Linked DNA regions of Homo sapiens: regions 1, 2, 4, 5, 6 and 7 are each linked to region 3. The links are contacts of gene promoters, found by promoter capture Hi-C in blood cells and fetal thymus (Javierre and others, 2016). All regions are on one chromosome and are shown on one strand. The core of a region is centred on a gene start or on the middle of the fragment in contact, and the rest is flanking DNA. Distances in the headings are between cores, read along the strand shown. Region 1 holds the start of H1-1 (H1.1 linker histone, cluster member). Region 2 overlaps LINC02980 (long intergenic non-protein coding RNA 2980). Region 3 holds the start of ABT1 (activator of basal transcription 1). Region 4 holds the start of TRS-AGA2-2 (tRNA-Ser (anticodon AGA) 2-2). Region 5 holds the start of H2BC3 (H2B clustered histone 3). Region 6 holds the start of TRS-TGA4-1 (tRNA-Ser (anticodon TGA) 4-1). Region 7 has its middle 6.7 kb from the start of H1-2.

Region 1 (2,814 bases), core at 117-2,616, 580 kb after region 3:
TTTCCAAATTTTTAGAAATTACGTGAAATATTTGAATGCATGCCTTCTCAATAAAATGGGACGTAGGAAGCACTGGTGCAGAAGATGGGTACAATACTTATCTGGGACCACTCCATTATTTGGTTGGCACGTTGTTTGAACAAAAAGGGGAAAAGCTCAGGTTACTTAGCATGGTTCGGACTTATTTGAAAACTACCACAGCAGGAGCGGAAATAAGACCGCATTACCTCACTCTCTGCTGTGCTGTGCTAGGGGGTTATCCAGAATAGGATTGTAGAAGTGGATGTCGATTTAATAGTTTTTTATTCTCCCATTAGCTGAGTCTCTGATTGGCAATGTGAGATCGTTTTAGCTTATTGATACTTTGAAATGCACTTAACAGCCACAAACAAGTTAAAGGGTTGTTACCATAAAATCTTATCCCCAGGGTGTGCTTGCATTTATCACCCGTGTTTGCTTTCACACTAAGTGGACTTAACTCCCCAGCAGAATGCCTGTCAGGGAACCGGTTTCGTGGACCCAGCATTTAACGCCTTTCGCAGGCTTGTGAGGCCCATAAATATTTGTTGAATAAAAGAATGAGTTGACCATGTCATGGTGCGCTGATTGCGTGTGCTGACATGGAACACAGGTTGTAAACCTTAATACCAATTTGGGGCATGTTGTATGGATGAAAAGGGCATTGGAAATTCCTGAAGTGCATCCCACATTGGACTGTGGAAATAAGTTGCAAGTGCAGAAACGTTTCCACACTTGCAGTTTGAGTATTAATTGCAGCGTTTGTGAATTCTGGTGTTGTCTACGATTCATTCTTGTTTGACGTGAAAGGTATTCGCGAGACACATCGCTCTAAAACATTGCCAGAAAATGTAATAGAGTTGATGACAACTGGCCCTAACACGGCCTAAAACTCGCACTTTTCTCTCCCTCCGCAACTATTCAAAACACTGTATTTTACATTTCTTGCAAATTAAAAACTAACATCTCTGGCAACGGACCTCTAAAAATTTCTAATAAAACTCCTCGGATGCTTGTGGCACTGCATTTGTAAACCGCCCCCTCTCAACCTACTCCCTAAAAAAGAGCTGCTTTTTGAGAGAGAAGCGGTACCCTCTGATGTTACTGGGCGGCAGTCTGCCTACAATTTCCTTCACAATGAGGCAACCAGAGCGGCTTTTTCTGTGTGTTTGCTTGCGTTGAGGGGAGCAGGACCATAGGCCCTAGAGGCCCCCAGCTGCCTTCTGAGACTGGGCGAAACCCTCGGCAGCGCGCAGGGGGCGCTAGGGCGCGAGGGGCGGGCACTGACGGGCACCAATCACGGCGCAGTCCCACCCTATAAATAGGCTGCGTTGGGGCCTTTTTTTCGCATCCTGCTTCGTCAGGTTTATACCACTTTATTTGGTGTGCTGTGTTAGTCACCATGTCTGAAACAGTGCCTCCCGCCCCCGCCGCTTCTGCTGCTCCTGAGAAACCTTTAGCTGGCAAGAAGGCAAAGAAACCTGCTAAGGCTGCAGCAGCCTCCAAGAAAAAACCCGCTGGCCCTTCCGTGTCAGAGCTGATCGTGCAGGCTGCTTCCTCCTCTAAGGAGCGTGGTGGTGTGTCGTTGGCAGCTCTTAAAAAGGCGCTGGCGGCCGCAGGCTACGACGTGGAGAAGAACAACAGCCGCATTAAGCTGGGCATTAAGAGCCTGGTAAGCAAGGGAACGTTGGTGCAGACAAAGGGTACCGGAGCCTCGGGTTCCTTCAAGCTCAACAAGAAGGCGTCCTCCGTGGAAACCAAGCCCGGCGCCTCAAAGGTGGCTACAAAAACTAAGGCAACGGGTGCATCTAAAAAGCTCAAAAAGGCCACGGGGGCTAGCAAAAAGAGCGTCAAGACTCCGAAAAAGGCTAAAAAGCCTGCGGCAACAAGGAAATCCTCCAAGAATCCAAAAAAACCCAAAACTGTAAAGCCCAAGAAAGTAGCTAAAAGCCCTGCTAAAGCTAAGGCTGTAAAACCCAAGGCGGCCAAGGCTAGGGTGACGAAGCCAAAGACTGCCAAACCCAAGAAAGCGGCACCCAAGAAAAAGTAAATTCAGTTAGAAGTTTCTTCTAGTAACCCAACGGCTCTTTTAAGAGCCACCTACGCATTTCAGGAAAAGAGCTGTAGTACACAGATGAAATCCCCCAAGCAAATGCAACACGCCCTCAATTATATTAGAATCACTTGGAGAGTCGATAGAACTTTAACATAGCCTCATCTAGTAAGAATTTACTACTCAATCTATCAAAGATAGCAAGGTGAATTCAAATGCACCGAGTTAAAATCGAGTTTTAAAGTCACCTGGGTTTCGGTAGCCGGAAGTCCCGCGTCTCACGACTCCAAGCTAATTAGTCATAACCGTATTGAACCAAGGTTGAAGCCCAGTCCCAGGCTTGAGGCTTTTTATTATACAAGGTTAAAGTGGGGATATTGCGTTTTGGGGTCAATATTGCTAAAGTAGCATTTTCCGAAATTGGGTGGTCCTAAGAAATGCTTCTGGGATAGTTGGCAAAATATATGGCTTAACCACGCCCTCTCCACAGGAGTGGCTAGCGAGCTGTCTGTCCTTGGGAAGGACGGTGACCCTGCTGGCGTGGCTGGCGCCCACGTTGGCGTCCTCTGAAAGCCCCGCCAGGTAGGCCTAGCTCGCTTGCTTTCTGCAGCGCCATCATGACAAAGCTTTGAAACGCAAAATGCTTTCTTTGTGCAGCGCCTTACCATGGGTGCACTTACGGGCTGTCGACTTGGTTTAGGCCCTTGTCAGGACAAAGGAGCTTAGTTTGTTGGAGTTTTAGA
Region 2 (2,700 bases), core at 34-2,533, 600 kb after region 3:
TTGGTTTATTAAAATATATTCTAATGTAATTTATGACATTTTCATCATATTAGCATATTTATTCTGTTAGAATTTCATAATTTATAAAGCTACAAACTGTATGTGATATAGCTTGTAACTTTATCTCATAACTTTATGCAGTTACAAGTAGAAATAAAATGTTCCCCTCAAGATTGCTTAAAATTTTATTATAAACAAGTGTAAAAAACAAAATCACTAAAACACTCCCTCTTTTTTCCCCCAAAATGCATGTTTCCATTTTAACAGAACCCGTATTTAATCAGCAGATTTCTATGGTGGCTAGATTTGTAGACTAAATATTAAAAGTCCCAAAGCAAATGCATTTTTCTCTTAAATTTTACTGACTTTTTTTTTTTTTCTTTTTCTGAGACGGAGTCTTGCTCTGTCGCCCAGGCTGGAATGCAGTGGCACAATCTCGGCTCACTGCAACCTCCGCCTCCCGGATTCACGCCATTCTCCTGCCTCAACCTCCCGAGTAGCTGGGACCACAGGCGCCCGCCACCACGCCCAGCTAATTTTTTGTATTTTTAGTAGAGACAGGGTTTCACCGTGTTAGCCGGGATGGTCTCGATCTCCTGACCTCATGATCTGCCCACCTCAGCCTCCCAAAGTGCTAGGATCACAGGCATGAGCCACCGCGCCCCGCCTACTGACTTTTATCCAAAGAAAATATAAGAGCTCTTCATCATAACGTATGTTTCTTGCTCTTGTTATTAAATATGACACATTTAGACTTAAACTGATTTGAAGGTTTATGACATTGTTTAAGTTATTACATAATTAATTCATAAAGATAATGACTAGTTTGAACTACTGACAGCTCACACATCATCAGTTGAACAGCAGAAAGCTTACTAAGCTACTTTCTTATGTTTCTGTCTCCCAGCTACTAAAAGAAACGAAACCCTTCCAGGTGTTAAGGCAAAACTTTCCTCCCCCTTTCTTCTATAAATCTGATTCCATGTTAGTGAAATTTCTACTGATGGCTTTGGTTTCCTCTATAGTAGAATAGAGATCCTATGGCAAAAGTCATGTCTGACATGGTAGCAAATAGAAATGGGGAAAAGGAAGGTCTGCAAGAGCCAATGTGGGAAATGGGGAGAGGACTGACTACAAAAACCCAGCAGGAATTCCAGAAGAAAACTCCTCAGGACGGGCACATTGGCTCATGCCTGTAATCCCAGTACTTTGGGAGGCCGAGGTGGGCAGATCACTTGAGTCCAGGAGTTTGAGACCAGCCTGGTCAACATGGCGAAACCTCATCTCTACAAAAAATAAAAAAATTTGTCAGGCGTGGTGGCATGCACCTGTAGTCCCAGCTACTCAAGAGACTTAAGTGGGAGAATCACTCGAGCCTTGGAGGTGGAGGTTGGTGAGCCGAGATCACGCCACTGCATTCCAGCCTGGGCGACAAAGTGAGACGCCATCTCAATCAATCAGTCTCCTCGAAAAGCAACATTATGGAGAGACAGGATTCCGTCAAGGCCTGGGGCACACAGGAAAATATTAAGGCAGAAGAGAGTTTCCTCCCCACACCACACCGTATCCCACAGGCACTGCGGATGTGCATATGCAAGAGGGGTTGATCCTAAGAATTTAGAGTCACAGAGGAGGAGGCACCAAGCAGACTGTGGAGAAAGTCATGACCAGAAAGGGACAGAATGTAAAGCTTCAGCTGATTATCTGGCCTCAGGGATTCCAGAGGAACTGGTCCCAATGGTCTCCTGGTGATGTAGGTTCTTAGGTTTCTTTTACAGGGGTTTTCTGGGAGATCGTTGACCCAGTTAGCATTCAAGCAACTTCCACCCTGCACTTTTATTCTTTCCCCTTCACCTGCTTAGGTTTTATCTGTCCAGGAAATAATAATAAAATTATTGAGCCCTGGACATGTACCTGTAAAGCTCCTTAAAGATGATGCCTTCTAACTCCTCATTCAACAGATACAAAAACATTACAATAAAATGACTCATGCAAGACACCCAGGTAGTTTATAGCAGCTAATAAAAACAGAATAACTATAAAATATGGTAAGTTTATAAAAGTTACATTGAGTATACTTTATAAGAACTGCTTATTGAGTTTGCCTAATAACCACACAGCACAATAATAATATGTATATATTTTTAAATATGTGTAAATATGTGTAACACAAACTTGTAGAAGGTATATCTGAGTACAACCCTATTCTGTTTGGTTACCTTTTCTAGTTCATTATGTAAGTGGCATAGCTACCTAAGGACTTATGCTTATAAATGTTACTCAAAAAAATACAGAGGACATATGTGGATAGATAATGGAAGAGATAAGATAGGTAGGTTGAAGGGTTGGGCTGCCCCTCCACACCTGTGGTTGTTTCTCGTTAGGTGGAATGAGAGACTTGGAAAAGAAAGAGACACAGAGACAAAGTATAGAGAAAGAAAAAAAGGGGTCCAGGGGACCGGTGTTCAGCATACGGAGGATCCCACCGGCCTCTGAGTTCCCTTAGTATTTATTGATCATTATTGGGTGTTTCTCGGAGAGGGGGATGTGGCAGGGTCAAAGGATAATAGTGGAGAGAAGGTCAGCAGGTAAACACGTGAACAAAGGTCTCTGCATCATAAACAAGGTAAAGAATTAAGTGCTGTGCTTTAGATATGCATACACATAAACATCTCAATGACTTGAAGAGCAGTATTGCTG
Region 3 (2,700 bases), core at 53-2,552:
AAAAGAAGAAAAGATCAGGATAGTGCAGATTAGGGAGAAAGATGAGACAAGGGGACAAGGCCAATGAGAGGCCATGGGGATACTTGGGCCAGAGTTGGGGAGAAGGGAGGGTGAGAGGTGTGGCAGAAAGATCTATCTTCTCACCTTGAGGTTCCAAAGATCATAACGGAAGGGGCTGCGCCTGCGGGCACCCATAGGCGTGTTGTGTAGACTGGCCGCCACGCGCTTGGCTATGCGCTTGTCACGGAACTCCACCCATCCCTCGGTGTAGTCCTTGGTGTAGGACCGCTTTTTTCCTCCGGCAGCTGCTGCTGCCTTCTTCTTGCGTCTCACGAACCGGTCTGCGCGCCAAAGACAAAGACCCGTCCAGGACGCCTATGCAGCACTCACTCAAAAGCACCTCCCACTGCCCGCAACGTTCTTCACATCTGCCAGTGGGAGTCCCACCTGAAGAGTTTTTGCCCAGGAGGAAGGGAACTGTAAATCGCACCCTTTCCTCTAGCTAACTCAATTCTTTCCTTAATTGTCCACTCCTTAATCTGGCCAGCCCTGAACGCTGCTTAAAACCGGCACAAGTCCTCAGCCTCAATGTAAAATTGAGGGTGGAAAGAAGAGGGGCGGTTGATCAAATAGTTTCTTGACCTAGGCAGCAATGCTAAAGAGTTATGTTCAGTTTTGTAGAAAAGCTGACGAGACTTTTACTCAGGTTGTATTCATGTAACAAACCAGTAAACAGGTCCGGAAAGAGAGGTGAACAGAGCCGGGATAAGAACACAAATAGTAACAATCCGAGAACTAAAGAACCACCAGACACACTGCGCTACCCACTCTCCCCATATCCCCTCCGCCCGCCCACCCCAGCATCCTCACAGACTGATTCACCAGCCAGGAGCCAAGCACCGCACTCCCCACCCCCAAAATCCAGCAACTCGTGCCTCAGCCTCGCGCAGCGAAGCAACAGGACATGCATGCTTGCACCCCGCCAGCGAGCGACAACCTCCTCCTGTCACCGTCAGGGCCTGCATACTTACCCTCAGCCTGAAAGAAGACGCGTCCGACCTCGCCATAGGCGCTGAGAAGGTTGCGGACGTGCAGGGGCCGGAAGCGCGGCGGGATATGGCCCAGGTACACAATACCTGGCACTACCCGTTTCTTGCTGCCACAGGCCGCTTCTTCGGATTCCTCCTGCTCCTCCTCCGCATCTAGTGTCTGTTCTGTCCCTTCCAGCGGCTCTTGCTCCGTTGCGGCCTTCTCCGATTCCTCTGCCTCCATGTTGACTGACACGAGCGGCACGACGGCCGTAAAGTGCCTTGCCAACTGACGCAAAACGCGTGCGACGGCCTGAGACGAGGGGGCGGGTCCAAGGTGGTGATGACAAATGAAAGGAAATGATTGGGCAATACAGTCGGGTCCAGGGGAAGGCCGAGGGGAGAGGGAGGAAGTGGTGTGTCAGGTCGGAAGCCTGATTCAGAGCGTGGAAGCGGGATGGGAAACTTGGGTTAGGCTCAGATTCCCGGTCAGATCTCCAACTCAGGACAGGCAGAACCAGAAAAGGCAGATCCCCAAATATAACCTACCCTATAGAACGCCTTGTCGAGACGCTAAAAGGCGGGTTGATGCCGGCTTTTTAGGGAATTTTGCAGAACAATTTTAGAGAAGTTTCTATGTGTTCTAGCGATCAAAATAGCATTTTATTCAAGGGCCCCGGGTGCGATTCCAGCTGAGGAATGACTCACCTTTTAAAGTTTATAAATTTCATTTAAAAATTTTGAGTTTTGAGGTTTTAACTATTTCTGGAAATTTACCTCGGAATTTTGAATATTTTAAAATTTAATTTTGAAAACAGTTCAACTTTGGAAATTTAATTAGATTTAATTTTTGAAAATTTAAGTTGTGAACTTTCAGTTTAATATTTTACATTTGATTTTGTGAATGTCTGAAAATTTAAATGTGTGACAATTATTTGAAGAATTTGTTTGGCATCTATTACACGTGTGTATTGATACATTATCCATATGCATACTTATGTTGCAAATACTTGTCAGAGGCGCACAAGCCTCCAATTCTGGCGACCCCCCGGCGGCGCGCTTATTTCTGCTCTCCCTGGGTCTGTCCTCAGATTCCCTATCAGATCACAAACCACTTTTCCTTCTATGACCTACGCAACCGCAGAACGGACCGGGCCACGGCGGTCCTGCTCCCACCAGGCGGCCTGCGGACCATCCCTAAGCCAAGCTCAGGGCAGTTTTCCCCGCGCGGGCTCGGGTCCTCAGTCTCTTATCGTCGCCCGAGGGCGCGACCAGCAGGGGGCGCCGTCCCCACCCTTGAGGCGTTTCAGTTCTTCCCATCGGCGCCAGCGACAAGCTGACTGCAAAGGACAGTGCTGGGAACCGCGTACAAGTAATCCGGTTAGCTTTCTGGAAGCAGCCCGGGGCGAGTTTGATGACTATCAACATAAATCCGTCCTTGCTGCGGCCTGACAAAATTTCCCATCTCGCTCCAAGAGCGCAGAGTAGCCCAGAGAATGGAAGCAGGGAGTAAATGTGTCCACTATTAAAATCAGAGATGACAGTTTTTGCCAGTCCCCAAGTATATTTCTAAAGTAACAGGGCCCTGCACTCTTTCATGGAGTGTCTAAAAGTCTAATAATAGACTTCTCGAATTCAAACACGCCTGTTTCATTAACTTTATTGAAGAGAA
Region 4 (2,700 bases), core at 113-2,612, 880 kb before region 3:
AAATGGAGCTCTTAGGAAATCCCTGTGAAGTTACTCGCTATTGTCCATCTTTCTTTGCTCTGTAGTCACACGTTTCCCCTACCAAATATACGCAAGGCAATTCAGCGAACGTGTCTCCGCCCAACCGCGAATCCTCTCCAGTTCCTCCTTCATTCCTCGGACGCTTTGTCAGACCCTTTTAAAAAAGAACTCTCGCTAGCCTCCTTTGTGACGCACTGGTTTCCGTCTATGTTCAACCATGGTTGGAGCCCTAGCTAACATAGGAGTTACAAATCCCGAAAGGTGCATCGGTTGGTTTCAAAGACAGGAAAAGCAGAGGTGGGACCAATACCTGCGCTCCGTTGAGGTAAAATAGATAAAGAGTCTGCAGATGTATTTTTAAAGTTCAGGATGCGTCAAGTGGCACGCAGAAGCTTTATCACGAGTTCCCTCGCCCCCAAACTGAAAGCAAATATGACATCGTATTTCCTCTCTGAAGTAAATACGATTCCTCTCTGTTCTCAGTAAAACATCCCGAAGTCGGCAAAAGTTCAGGCTGCGTTAAGTGGCACGCAGAAGCTCTATTACGAGTTCCTTTACTCCCAAACTGAAAGCAAATATGACATCGTATTTCCTCTCTGAACTGTTCTCAGTAAAACATCCCGAAGTCGGCAAAAGTTCAGGCTATGTTAGGTGACACGCAGAGGCTCTATCACGAGTTTCTTTACTCCCAAACTGAAAGCAAATGTGAGATCCTATTTCCTCGCTGAACTGTTCTCAGTAAAACATCCCGTAGTCGGCAGGATTCGAACCTGCGCGGGGAGACCCCAATGGATTTCTAGTCCATCGCCTTAACCACTCGGCCACGACTACACGAATGGAGAAGGCTCCCTTCACATCTTTAAACAGAATTTACACCAGCTAACTGACAAGAAACGGTCAAAAGAACAAAATACGGTAAAAATGGTTTCCTGGGCAAGAAACTGGAGTCTGCGAGTTCATTAGAAACTCTAACGTGAAGTGCAAGTTGGATAAGACAAGCCAACCTCTCTGGGGCAGCCGCAAGGAGTCCTTGCCCTATCAGCAGTACCGTTTCCAGAAAACTAGAGACCACTGTACCTCTCTCACCTGGACCCAAACTGACCCCGCAAGGAAGTGGAATCAGACCCTCACCGTAAATCTGGGCCTGACACATTTAGTTTTTGTTTGAAACTTCCTCTCATTGAGGCTCCTTGATGAATGCTAATGGCTTTCAAGAAGGGACTAACTTTTGATTTGTGTCTGAACTGGAGGGCCAGAAAATGATGCAGAAAAGCCTACTTGCACTTTCTTGCTCTGATGAGGTCCCTAAGTCTCTAGGCTCACACCAACCCAAGGGAGTATATCTACCCGGTCTCGTTTGCACGGCATTTTGCATTTCACAATGCGCTTCCACGCTTCAGTTGGGTTAAGAAAGAAATTTATAGATTGTTCATGAGTTCCCATGGAACCAGGTTACCTATCAAAAGGAAGATCCTACTTTGATTTTTGGCCAAGGCAGACGCTCCTTCTCTCAAAATCTAACCCACGCAGTATGTTTTCTTTTCCTCTTATGCTTCCGTCTTGAAGTCTAAAGCTGCCGGTCCTGGAGTTTCCCTGAGCCCTTTGGATGCACAGATTATTGTAATTGGCTTTCATCTACTTCTTGGAACCATATACTAATCTAAGAAAAGAGGGAAACAATCGCAAGCTAAGAAATCATGTCGACTAAGTAGATAAATGAGGAAGAGGGACAAGAAGGAAGAGGAAAAGAAGAAAGTGACCAGAAAGGAGAAGAGAGAAAGGAAGGAGGGACAGGAGGTAGAAAGAAGAGGATGAAGGAGAAAGAAGAGGAGGAAGAGGAAGAGGAGAAACGAAGGAAGACCGGGAAGGGAAGAGACAGAGATTTTCTGAGGACCCTTGTTAGAGCTCAGAAAATGATACCCCAAAGTATGGCTCTTGGAAGTGCTGAGTACTTTGAACTAAAGAAGCAACCTCAGAATCAAAGTCTCTCTGACCTTCCGCAGCCCCACTGCCTCCTGATCCTCTTTCTTTCTTGAATGGCAGGGAGGGGCTTTCACTGAAGTTTCCCTTATTTGACTTACGGAGGTTCCTCCAGAAGGAAAGAGATTGTCATGAACCCTCTCCTGGAATCTGTATTAACCAGAGAAGATTAACTCAGATCCCAGGAGAGAAAACTAAAGGTCTCCATGCCCGGGACATCTCGCCCAGCCAGACTTCAATTCTTTTCTTCACCACCTATTCTGAGGGCTGCTACTTGAGAGACTTTATCTGTATAATAAGACAAGCTTTGTTCCCAGAGCTGTTCCTGCCCTGACCCTCACATTGCTTCTCGCCACCACCTTCCAGGAGCCTTCAAGCTCCTATTTCTTTATGTAGCTCCAAGTCCTATTTAAGCTTCAACCATCTGCCCCTTCTTTGAGTCTCACTTACACTTTCTGGGACCTCTGTGCATATGTGCATAATAAATGTGTATGCCTTTTCTTCTGTTAATCTGTCTACTAGCAGCTTTATTTCTCAGACTCAAATATCCAACCTCCAGAAGGGAGAAAAAAGATTCTCTCACCCCTACAGGCTCAAAAGAAGACTAAAAGAAATTCACTAGTTTTATGGAAGACCATAATTTGAGGGAATAGACATGAAGCAGTTTGATGGGGTAGCCAGGTGTCCATACAAATATAA
Region 5 (2,700 bases), core at 16-2,515, 550 kb after region 3:
TCAGAGAATGAGATTCCATGCTATTTTGTTACTGGCGAACAGCAAGTTTCCTTGCCCTTTGTTTTCTAAGTCCAAGTCACATTCCCACCCTGCCTGTTCTCAAAATGTCTTATTTTGGTTGGCCTTAAGTTTCACTTTGTATACTCTAAAATGTACTTTCTAAAGGAAGGTGTTATTTTCTCGAAACTTAACTTTTTAACACCATTAGGCTAGGGGGGCGGTGGCTCACGCCTGTAATCCCAGCATTTTGGGAGGGCGAGATGGGACGATCACTAGAGGCCAGGAGTTCAAGACAACCCTGGCTAAAATGGTGAAACCCCGTCTCGCATAAAAATACAAAAACTAGCTGGGCGCGGTAGCAGACGCCTGTAATCCCAAGTACACAGGAGGCTGAGGCATGAGAACCGCGTGAAGCGGCGGGGTGGAGGTTGCAGTAAGCCGATATCGCGCCGCTGCACTCCAGCCTGGGTGACAGAACTAGACTGTCTCAAAACAAACCAATCCAAACGAAAAGCAAAAAATACCCTAACAGAAGCAAGTTATCATCCTTTCTTGTGTAACTATGGACGGCTCTGAAAAATGCCGTTTCAAGTGTAAGCTACGTTTTCTGATTTGAGTGTTTACTTGACCTTGGCCTTATCGTGGCTCTGTTATTTTGGCAACAGGACGGCCTGAATATTGGACAGGACGCCTCCCTGAGCAATAGTGACGTTGCCCAGCTGCTTGTTGACCTCCTCGTCGTTTCGGATGGCCAGCTGCAGGTGGCGGGGGATGATGCTGCGGGTCTTGTCACGTATGGCGCTGCCCACCAGTTCTAAGATCTCGGCGGCCAGGTATTGTAAGTACACTGGCGCACCGGCTCCGACCGGCTCAAAATAATTGCCCTTTCGAAAAAGATGACGGACTCTGCCCTATTGGGAACTGCAAGCCCGGTAGCGACGAACAAGTTTTTGCTTTAGCTCCATTTTCCACGTCCGCAAATAGCGACCTATGAAAGCAGCGGAAAACTGTGAAAGACAAGCAAGCTGGAATGGCGCCTGAACAAATCCTTTTATACAAACTGCAAGGCTGCAATAGGAAGCTATCCTATTGGTCAATTATGTTTGGTGCTTTATCCAATAGAAAAAGATAACATAAATTCCATATTTGCATAAACCCCACCCCTCAGTGAAACCGTGTTTCTTTTGTCCAATCAGAAGTGAGGAATCTTAAACCGTCATTTGAATCTCAGGACTATAAATACATGGGCTCTGAACTGTTCTCTGTACTACTCTGTAGTGGAGAGTGTTAGTAGCTTTTCTATTCTGTTTAGGAATAGCAATGCCTGAACCCTCTAAGTCTGCTCCAGCCCCTAAAAAGGGTTCTAAGAAGGCTATCACTAAGGCGCAGAAGAAGGATGGTAAGAAGCGTAAGCGCAGCCGCAAGGAGAGCTATTCTATCTATGTGTACAAGGTTCTGAAGCAGGTCCACCCCGACACCGGCATCTCATCCAAGGCCATGGGGATCATGAATTCCTTCGTCAACGACATCTTCGAGCGCATCGCGGGCGAGGCTTCTCGCCTGGCTCACTACAATAAGCGCTCGACCATCACCTCCAGGGAGATTCAGACGGCTGTGCGCCTGCTGCTGCCTGGGGAGCTGGCTAAGCATGCTGTGTCCGAGGGCACTAAGGCAGTTACCAAGTACACTAGCTCTAAATAAGTGCTTATGTAAGCACTTCCAAACCCAAAGGCTCTTTTCAGAGCCACCTACTTTGTCACAAGGAGAGCTATAACCACAATTTCTTAAGGTGGTGCTGCTGCTATTCTGTTTCAGTTCTAGAGGATCAACTGGAATGTTAGCGAAGACAAGTTTTAGAGCCAAGGTTAACTTGGACGGGGCCGTGCGCGGTGCCTCTTGCCTTTAATCCCGGCAATTTGGGAGGCCGAGGCGGGCGGATCACGAGGTCAGGAGATGGAGACCATCCTGCTTAACACGATGAAACCCCGTCTCTACTAAAAATACAAAATAATTAGCTGGGCGTGATGGTGGGCGCCTGTAGTCCCAGCTACTCGGGAGGCTGAGGCAGGAGAATGGCGTGAACGCGGGAGGCGGAGCTTGCAGTGAGCCGAGATCGCGCCATGGCACTCCAGCCTGGGTGACAGAGCGAGACTCCGTCTCAAAAAAAAAAAAAAAAAAAAATTAAAAAAATATGAAGTTTTGAAGCAGAAATTATTTTGTCGTATGTTCTTTCATAAATTTTTTGCCTGCCTGCCTTCTTCCTTTGTTACAGAACTCCAACACTTACCCAAAGGTAGCTGTTGGGTCAGGGTTTCTGTACTATAGTCCCTTCTGTGGTGGCCAGAAATATGTTACAGGAAAGAGGTCCCCATCCAGACCCCAAGAGAGGGTTCTTGGATCCCGCGCAAGAAAGAGTTCAGGGTGAGTCCGCAGTGCAAAGTAAATGCAAGTTTACTAAGAAAGTAAAGTGGTGAAACGACAACTACTCCATAGACGGAGCAGGACATTCCCGAAAGTAAGAGGAGGAAGGCATCCACCCTAGGTACAATACTTGTATATATGGGGAGATGTGCTCTGCTACAAGTTTGTGATAAAGGATTAATTTTCTTAGTTACTATATTTTGCAAGAATCAACATTATTATCTTTAAACAAAATTAAGAATGCCTTTGTTCTCCAGATATAGGGATATCTGGACACTC
Region 6 (2,720 bases), core at 214-2,713, 910 kb before region 3:
AGACCATCTGGCCAACATGATGAAACTAAAAATACAGAAAAAAAAATAGCTGGACATGGTGGTGCATACCTGTAATCCCAGCTACTCGAGAGGCTGAGGCAGGAGAATCTCTTGAACCAGGGAGTTGGAGGTTGCAGTGAGCCAAGGTCCTGCCACTGCACTCCAAGCCTGGCGACAGAGCAAGACTCCATCTCAAGGAAAAAGAAAAAAAGAAGTGAGTCACCATTTGCACGAGCTTCCTGGTGGAATGGAGAAGTGCTAAGGCAGCAACAGCAAGGATCTTGTTCCAAGAACATGGGTAAGGGAGCTGATTAGTTTCCTAAGACTGCCCTAACAAATTACTATAAACTGGGTAACTTAAAAAGACAGATTTATTCTTAAGATTTTGGCCGGGTTGGTTGTTTTCTAGGTGCTCTGAGGGAAAATCTGAGACCTCTTTCCTTGCTCCTGATGGTTGAAGAAAATCCTTGGCATTCTTGGTTTGTAATTGCATCACTCCAGTCTCTGCCTCCCTCTCAACATAGCTTTTGAACTAGTGACTATGTGTCTGTGTCTCTAAATTTCTCACTTCCTATAAGGACAGCAGTCACTGGATTACTGGATTTAGAGCCTACCTGAATCCAGCATGATCTTCTCTTAACTTGATTAAATCAGCGAAGACTGTTTTCAAATAGGTCACACTCACAGGTACCACAGGTTAGGATTTCAACATATCTTTCTGGGCAACACAATGCAATTCACTTCAGGAGCAACTGCCTTTTTGTCTGCCCTAAACGAAAATGCATGTGGGAAAACTGTATCTGCAAGAGAGTTCGAGGGTCTCAGGTGTAAAAGAGATTCTCTCGTTTGTATCTGAAAGTCTGTCTGAATCTACTTGGTGGTACTTTGGCCAAGCATTTCAATTCCCAGAACTCAAAGCTGTAATCCCTGAGATTCCCCATTAAAGAATAAACAATAAAAGCCTGGTTCTGCAGTGTTTTCCTGAACCAACAGTCTTTAATCCTAGGGGGTAAAAAGGTATTAATATAGCTAGATTTAATGTGGCATTCACAAGCTCTTTTACGTTAGGAGGGACAGACAATGTTCTCAAGCTGCAAAATTTTGGAAAACATGTTATCTAAGCTTCTCCATATTCCCCTGGCTCCTGGGACTGCCTGCTTCCCTCCCTGGGGAAGGTGAAAAGGAGTGAGTTTTCCTGAGAGGATGGAGACCTTCCCATCAACTTTTTCTTCAGAGGGTCCACGAGGGCTAGGTCTTCCCTGCCCCTTCTCATCCTGCACCCCTGCTCAAATTGGGTTTCAACGAATTCTTTAAGCCAGAGAAAGGACAAAGCAGTTCAAAGCTGTTGAAGATATTTCTGGTTTAGTATTCAATACTGAAAGCAAAAGCAAATGACTCCAAGGTCATAATTCCTTCAAATTTCCTCTAGCAGGTTTCCTGTGCTATTGTCATTTGAGGCTGTGAAGCTACTAGGATCAGACCCTCAGCTCCAAACTCCCTTTCTGCTGGTTTCTCACAAATACCTGTGAACAGGTGCATCAACCGTGACTAGCAAGTGGAGTTCTAGGGGGAGAGAAAATCCAAGTCTCTTGTCTCAGAATGCTCCTTTGAACTCCACTTTTCTCAACTGAATTCCAATTCAGTATGGATGACTTATTTCATCTAAAAGCTGGAAGCTCTTAATGCACCTAGAAAATTCTTTGTTACTAGACTTAGTAACCAGGCACCAAAACATCTTTTACTGTAGTATCTACTTACCATACTACCCAAGAATGGCACACTGCTCACATCTTCAAAAGCTTAAACCAAGAGCACTACACAGGTGCGTAGTCGTGGCCGAGTGGTTAAGGCGATGGACTTGAAATCCATTGGGGTTTCCCCGCGCAGGTTCGAATCCTGTCGGCTACGGTTTGGTTTTAGCCTGACTTCTCCCAAATAGTTTCCTTCTAATTGCACCCCAAAGGCAACTGAGTCTCCTGGATTACAATTGTGTCATCTCCTTTGGTAACACTGCGTTGAACTCTGCATTCTAGCTGTCATCATCATTATTAACCCTGCGTTGTAGTTTACCTCTTTCTCTGAGTCCATTACTTTCCTCCTCCTCCAACATCCGAGACAACCGTGTCTCGAGTAAGAGAGAATCTATTGCTGTGGTGTAAACACCACCTAACGTTAATCCTGATTTGAGGAAGGCAATTCTCTTTTCCTCACCTACAAGCTCTGAGAATCGAAGTCAGACTCCATCGAGTTTTCTCTGTAGATAAGTCTAAGTTGCTTGTCTGGTGTGTGAAGATTTTGCCTATAGTGTATTAAGTGTTTTGTTAGCCCAAGTTTAGGGACTGTCATTCAACAGCAACAAGGCATTACCTGTTTTGCAGCAATAACAATGATTGTGATTGTAGCTTCAATATAAATTCGTTGGTTTGTAGACAGTACCACACACACTGTATCTTCTCGGCCTAAAAATTCGAGAGCCCAAGAATGGGAAAGGTTTATTAAACCACAGGAAGTGGATGTTAAAGCTAGCCTCTGGCTGCCAAGCCCTTATTATTTTTATTCTATTGATTTTGTTAAATGTCTTCATCTTACAGCTTAGAAAAATTCAAGGTGAAGTTCTCTGGCCCCAGTCTATTCTTCCTATCTTCTCCAGCACATTCAAAGACCAAGAACACTTATCTGGGCTTTACAGTAGATTCAGGAAACAGTGTAACTTCAGACAC
Region 7 (2,882 bases), core at 92-2,591, 530 kb after region 3:
TAAATATATTAGTTAAGTAGTTGGGGCATATTTTAATTCATGCATTTTGTAGATAGAAAAACAAAAGTTTTATTCTGTTTGATTTAGTTGATACTTTAATATGTGTGTGTTTAGGATGCATGATTTATAATCAGTCTGCAGCACTTCTTGGAGAAGTCTGAATTCTCATTCTCCATTTCCTTATTGGCAACGTGAGAATGATTACAATGGTGGTTGTCTCATAGAATGCAGGGAGTCAGAATGAAAATAGTCCATATAATGCCTGGTGCAGAGGAAGGGTTCAGTTAACTGTCTGTATTAATATTACTGATAACAGTCATGACAAACAAAAGCTTAACAACAACACCACCAACAACAGTTGCAGAATTGAGCCACCAATTTGCACACAAGATTGTAGGTAGGATGTTTTAGAAAAGTTATTATTTAATATATGTATATATTTTTGTACTTAAAATATGTCAGAGGTTGTTCTAAGAACTATTTAAATGTTAACTCCTTAATCCTCATAATGACCCATGAAACAGGTAGGCTTATTATTGTCTCTTTACATGTGAGAACACTGAGACACGAAAAGGTTTATTAACTCACCCAAAGTCACACAGCTGGTAAAACGGCAAAATTGAATTTGAACTCAGACATTCCAGGTTCCAAGACAGTCTAATTATTCTTTTGACTAATATACTAAGCTGCCTCTGTATTTTTCCTTGATTACTTTGTAAAAGTATGAGGAAAATATAAGTGCTTCAAGTAACCATGAAAAATATAAACAATCTATGTATCAACTGAAGCATAATTACAAATCCTTTGATAAGCAAACATAATAAAAATTTGATATCAATCAAAACTTTCATGTAATGTAAGCAGGTTGAGATGAATTCTATAGTAAAAAAGTGCAGAGTGCTGGAATACCATGCTCCTAATATATTGGCTAGGCACACCTGCCTGCTATCAAAGGTATGCACACACCTTGGATACAGAAAGTTGGGACTGGGTAGTTATGTGAGTGTCATCAGAATTCTTTCCCACTTGGGAAAGAATTGTCCATCATAAGCTTGGATGATGGACAAGGAGTGAGCTCCCAGAACAGTGATGTGGGGATACATCCTCACATCACAGTGAGAATGAGTGTTCTAGACTGTTTACACACCTACCACTCCTAAATGCACACATATAATTGCTTGCACACACACACATACACACTCATCTCTTCTCTGGTGGTCCAGCTCTATCTCTTATCATTAGGCTTCTTGGGGCTAGTACCTAGGGCCTGTATCCTTTCAGAGGCAGCTAAGGGAAGCACACATAATTAGAAAGAATGAACCAGCTTGTTGGATTTGGTCTCTTCGCATCCAGCCCTCCAAGTTAAGGAGAGTACCATCTTTCTTAGGGTCACCAAAGGAAAAAAAAAAAAAAGAAAGAAACAGAAGGATATCATACAGCAAGGATCTAATGCAAATATGCCTCAAATGAGAGGCTACTGTGTGCTGATCCCAATCCCAGGAACTGTATGCACATTATCTAATTTAATCCTCACTGTATTTCTGGGAGTATTATTCCCATTTTACAGAGAAGGAACTTGGCAGGGTAACCAAGCTCATGAATGGAGAAACTGGGATTAAATATAAAGCTTCCTTGCTCCAGAACTGCTGTCTTTCTGCTCTTCCACACTACCAGCTCAGCTGTGCTCTCTACATGCAGGCAGTTTTACAAGTTTCAGATTAGCCTGGGACTTCCAGGGTTTTGAATGGGTTAGGGAATGGGGAACTTTTGGGTTTACTTTCCATTTTTTCTTCATACATATGTAATATATAACATAAATCTATGGTATATATGATAAATATATGGCTACATATGAACTATATAATCACATATATGCATTATAAATAAATATTAATTTTATAATATTTTAAAGGTTATCAAATAAATATTAATATAAATAATTAAATAATTAATACTCAGCTTTGTTTTCCAAAGTGATAAATGCCTATATTTAGCAAAATATTTTTTGGAGGCCTGATAGTTTTTAGGAGTGTAAAGAAGTCCTGATATCTAAATGTTTAAGAACCACTATTTTAGGCTGTTGTCTTCTGTCTTATTTTCCCAGCTAGACTGGTAAATACTTGAAGGCAAACGTTTAGCCAGCACATTAACATTTTATGTTTTTATTCTTTTGTGCTCTCAGTGGCTGTGTCTTTTCTATCGATTTCTCACACTGTATGATGGTTATATTTGTCTGTATCTGTCCCACCAGGTATAAGTTCTTGAGAGGACACACTGCTAGGCTGATCTTAGTTTTTATTATTTCTCCTGGTGTCCTGTGCTTAACAAGTGCTCATTAAGTGTGTAAAAACACAGCACAGTAAAAAACTAGACATTAAAAAATAATGTCAACCAATCTATTGAAATTTGCATTTCCATGTTTCTTCCAATATAGTCATTGTGTCAGGTTATGTACTTATTCTGATGAAGACTATTGCCTAATATACGTTTGCATCTTGTGCTTTATAACTGCCTTCATATAGACACAGATTGAGAAGGTGTAAAAATGTGCATATCCTCACAATTGACAAATTCTTATCCTTTGAGGGTAGGTTTGACTTTCTGAAATGCTTTGACATCATTTGAAAGAAGCTTGAAGAATAAGATAGCTGTTAATGACCCAGTTTCCTATGTCACTTATACAATTATAATGGCAATTTCAAAATGTTAGGTAAATATATTTTGCAATATATTGTTCCTTTTGTAATACTCTCTATGTATTTATTTATATTTTTAAATTTTATATTTATGTATTTATTTTTCTGGACAGAGTCTTGCTCTGTTGCCCAGGTTAGAGTGAAGTGTTGTGATCATAGCTCTCTGCAACTTCAAACTGCTTGGCA

What was found. The method cuts DNA at HindIII sites, captures the fragments that hold promoters and counts their contacts. A CHiCAGO score of 5 or more calls a contact.
Region 1: a contact is called between the fragment with the promoter of H1-1 here and the fragment with the promoter of ABT1 in region 3, in 1 of 17 cell types (neutrophils). The highest score is 9.9, in neutrophils.
Region 2: a fragment that was not itself captured here is called in contact with the fragment with the promoter of ABT1 in region 3 in 1 of 17 cell types (neutrophils); the score reaches 5.1 in neutrophils.
Region 4: a fragment that was not itself captured here is called in contact with the fragment with the promoter of ABT1 in region 3 in 7 of 17 cell types (M1 macrophages, total CD8 T cells, M0 macrophages and 4 more); the score reaches 8.2 in M1 macrophages.
Region 5: the fragment with the promoter of H2BC3 here is called in contact with the fragment with the promoter of ABT1 in region 3 in 4 of 17 cell types (monocytes, neutrophils, naive B cells and 1 more); the score reaches 11.9 in monocytes.
Region 6: a fragment that was not itself captured here is called in contact with the fragment with the promoter of ABT1 in region 3 in 1 of 17 cell types (fetal thymus); the score reaches 5.5 in fetal thymus.
Region 7: a fragment that was not itself captured here is called in contact with the fragment with the promoter of ABT1 in region 3 in 1 of 17 cell types (neutrophils); the score reaches 5.2 in neutrophils.

The regions. Positions count from the first base shown.
Region 1 is chr6:26,016,339-26,019,152 of GRCh38, reverse strand. It overlaps H1-1 (H1.1 linker histone, cluster member), which reads left to right and starts at 1,366. Exons shown (of 1, transcript NM_005325.4): 1 at 1,366-2,121. The coding sequence starts at 1,421. The coding sequence ends at 2,068. It also overlaps the pseudogene H3P26. RefSeq lists an enhancer at 2,174-2,814. The HindIII fragment of the contact is 5,921 bases long and covers 1-2,699 here.
Region 2 is chr6:25,999,836-26,002,535 of GRCh38, reverse strand. It overlaps LINC02980 (long intergenic non-protein coding RNA 2980), which reads right to left. Exons shown (of 3, transcript NR_186645.1): 3 at 761-1,286. Among named protein-coding and RNA genes, the nearest start is that of LINC02980, 8.5 kb to the right of the region's middle. RefSeq lists an enhancer at 2,383-2,700. The HindIII fragment of the contact is 819 bases long and covers 874-1,692 here.
Region 3 is chr6:26,595,555-26,598,254 of GRCh38, reverse strand. It overlaps ABT1 (activator of basal transcription 1), which reads right to left and starts at 1,302. Exons shown (of 3, transcript NM_013375.4): 1 at 1,032-1,302; 2 at 145-341. The coding sequence starts at 1,272. RefSeq lists enhancers at 1,014-1,453, 2,011-2,170, 2,271-2,420. The HindIII fragment of the contact is 8,276 bases long and covers 1-2,700 here.
Region 4 is chr6:27,476,964-27,479,663 of GRCh38, reverse strand. It overlaps TRS-AGA2-2 (tRNA-Ser (anticodon AGA) 2-2), which reads right to left and starts at 852; the gene lies at 771-852. The HindIII fragment of the contact is 1,893 bases long and covers 416-2,308 here.
Region 5 is chr6:26,042,278-26,044,977 of GRCh38, reverse strand. It overlaps H2BC3 (H2B clustered histone 3), which reads left to right and starts at 1,265. Exons shown (of 1, transcript NM_021062.3): 1 at 1,265-1,751. The coding sequence starts at 1,321. The coding sequence ends at 1,701. It also overlaps the pseudogene H2AC5P. RefSeq lists an enhancer at 782-1,021. The HindIII fragment of the contact is 16,277 bases long and covers 1-2,700 here.
Region 6 is chr6:27,505,016-27,507,735 of GRCh38, reverse strand. TRS-TGA4-1 (tRNA-Ser (anticodon TGA) 4-1) reads left to right here and starts at 1,827; the gene lies at 1,827-1,908. RefSeq lists silencers at 1,835-1,894, 1,473-1,904 and an enhancer at 2,015-2,094. The HindIII fragment of the contact is 677 bases long and covers 1,125-1,801 here.
Region 7 is chr6:26,061,717-26,064,598 of GRCh38, reverse strand. No RefSeq gene overlaps it. Among named protein-coding and RNA genes, the nearest start is that of H1-2, 6.7 kb to the right of the region's middle. The HindIII fragment of the contact is 576 bases long and covers 1,054-1,629 here.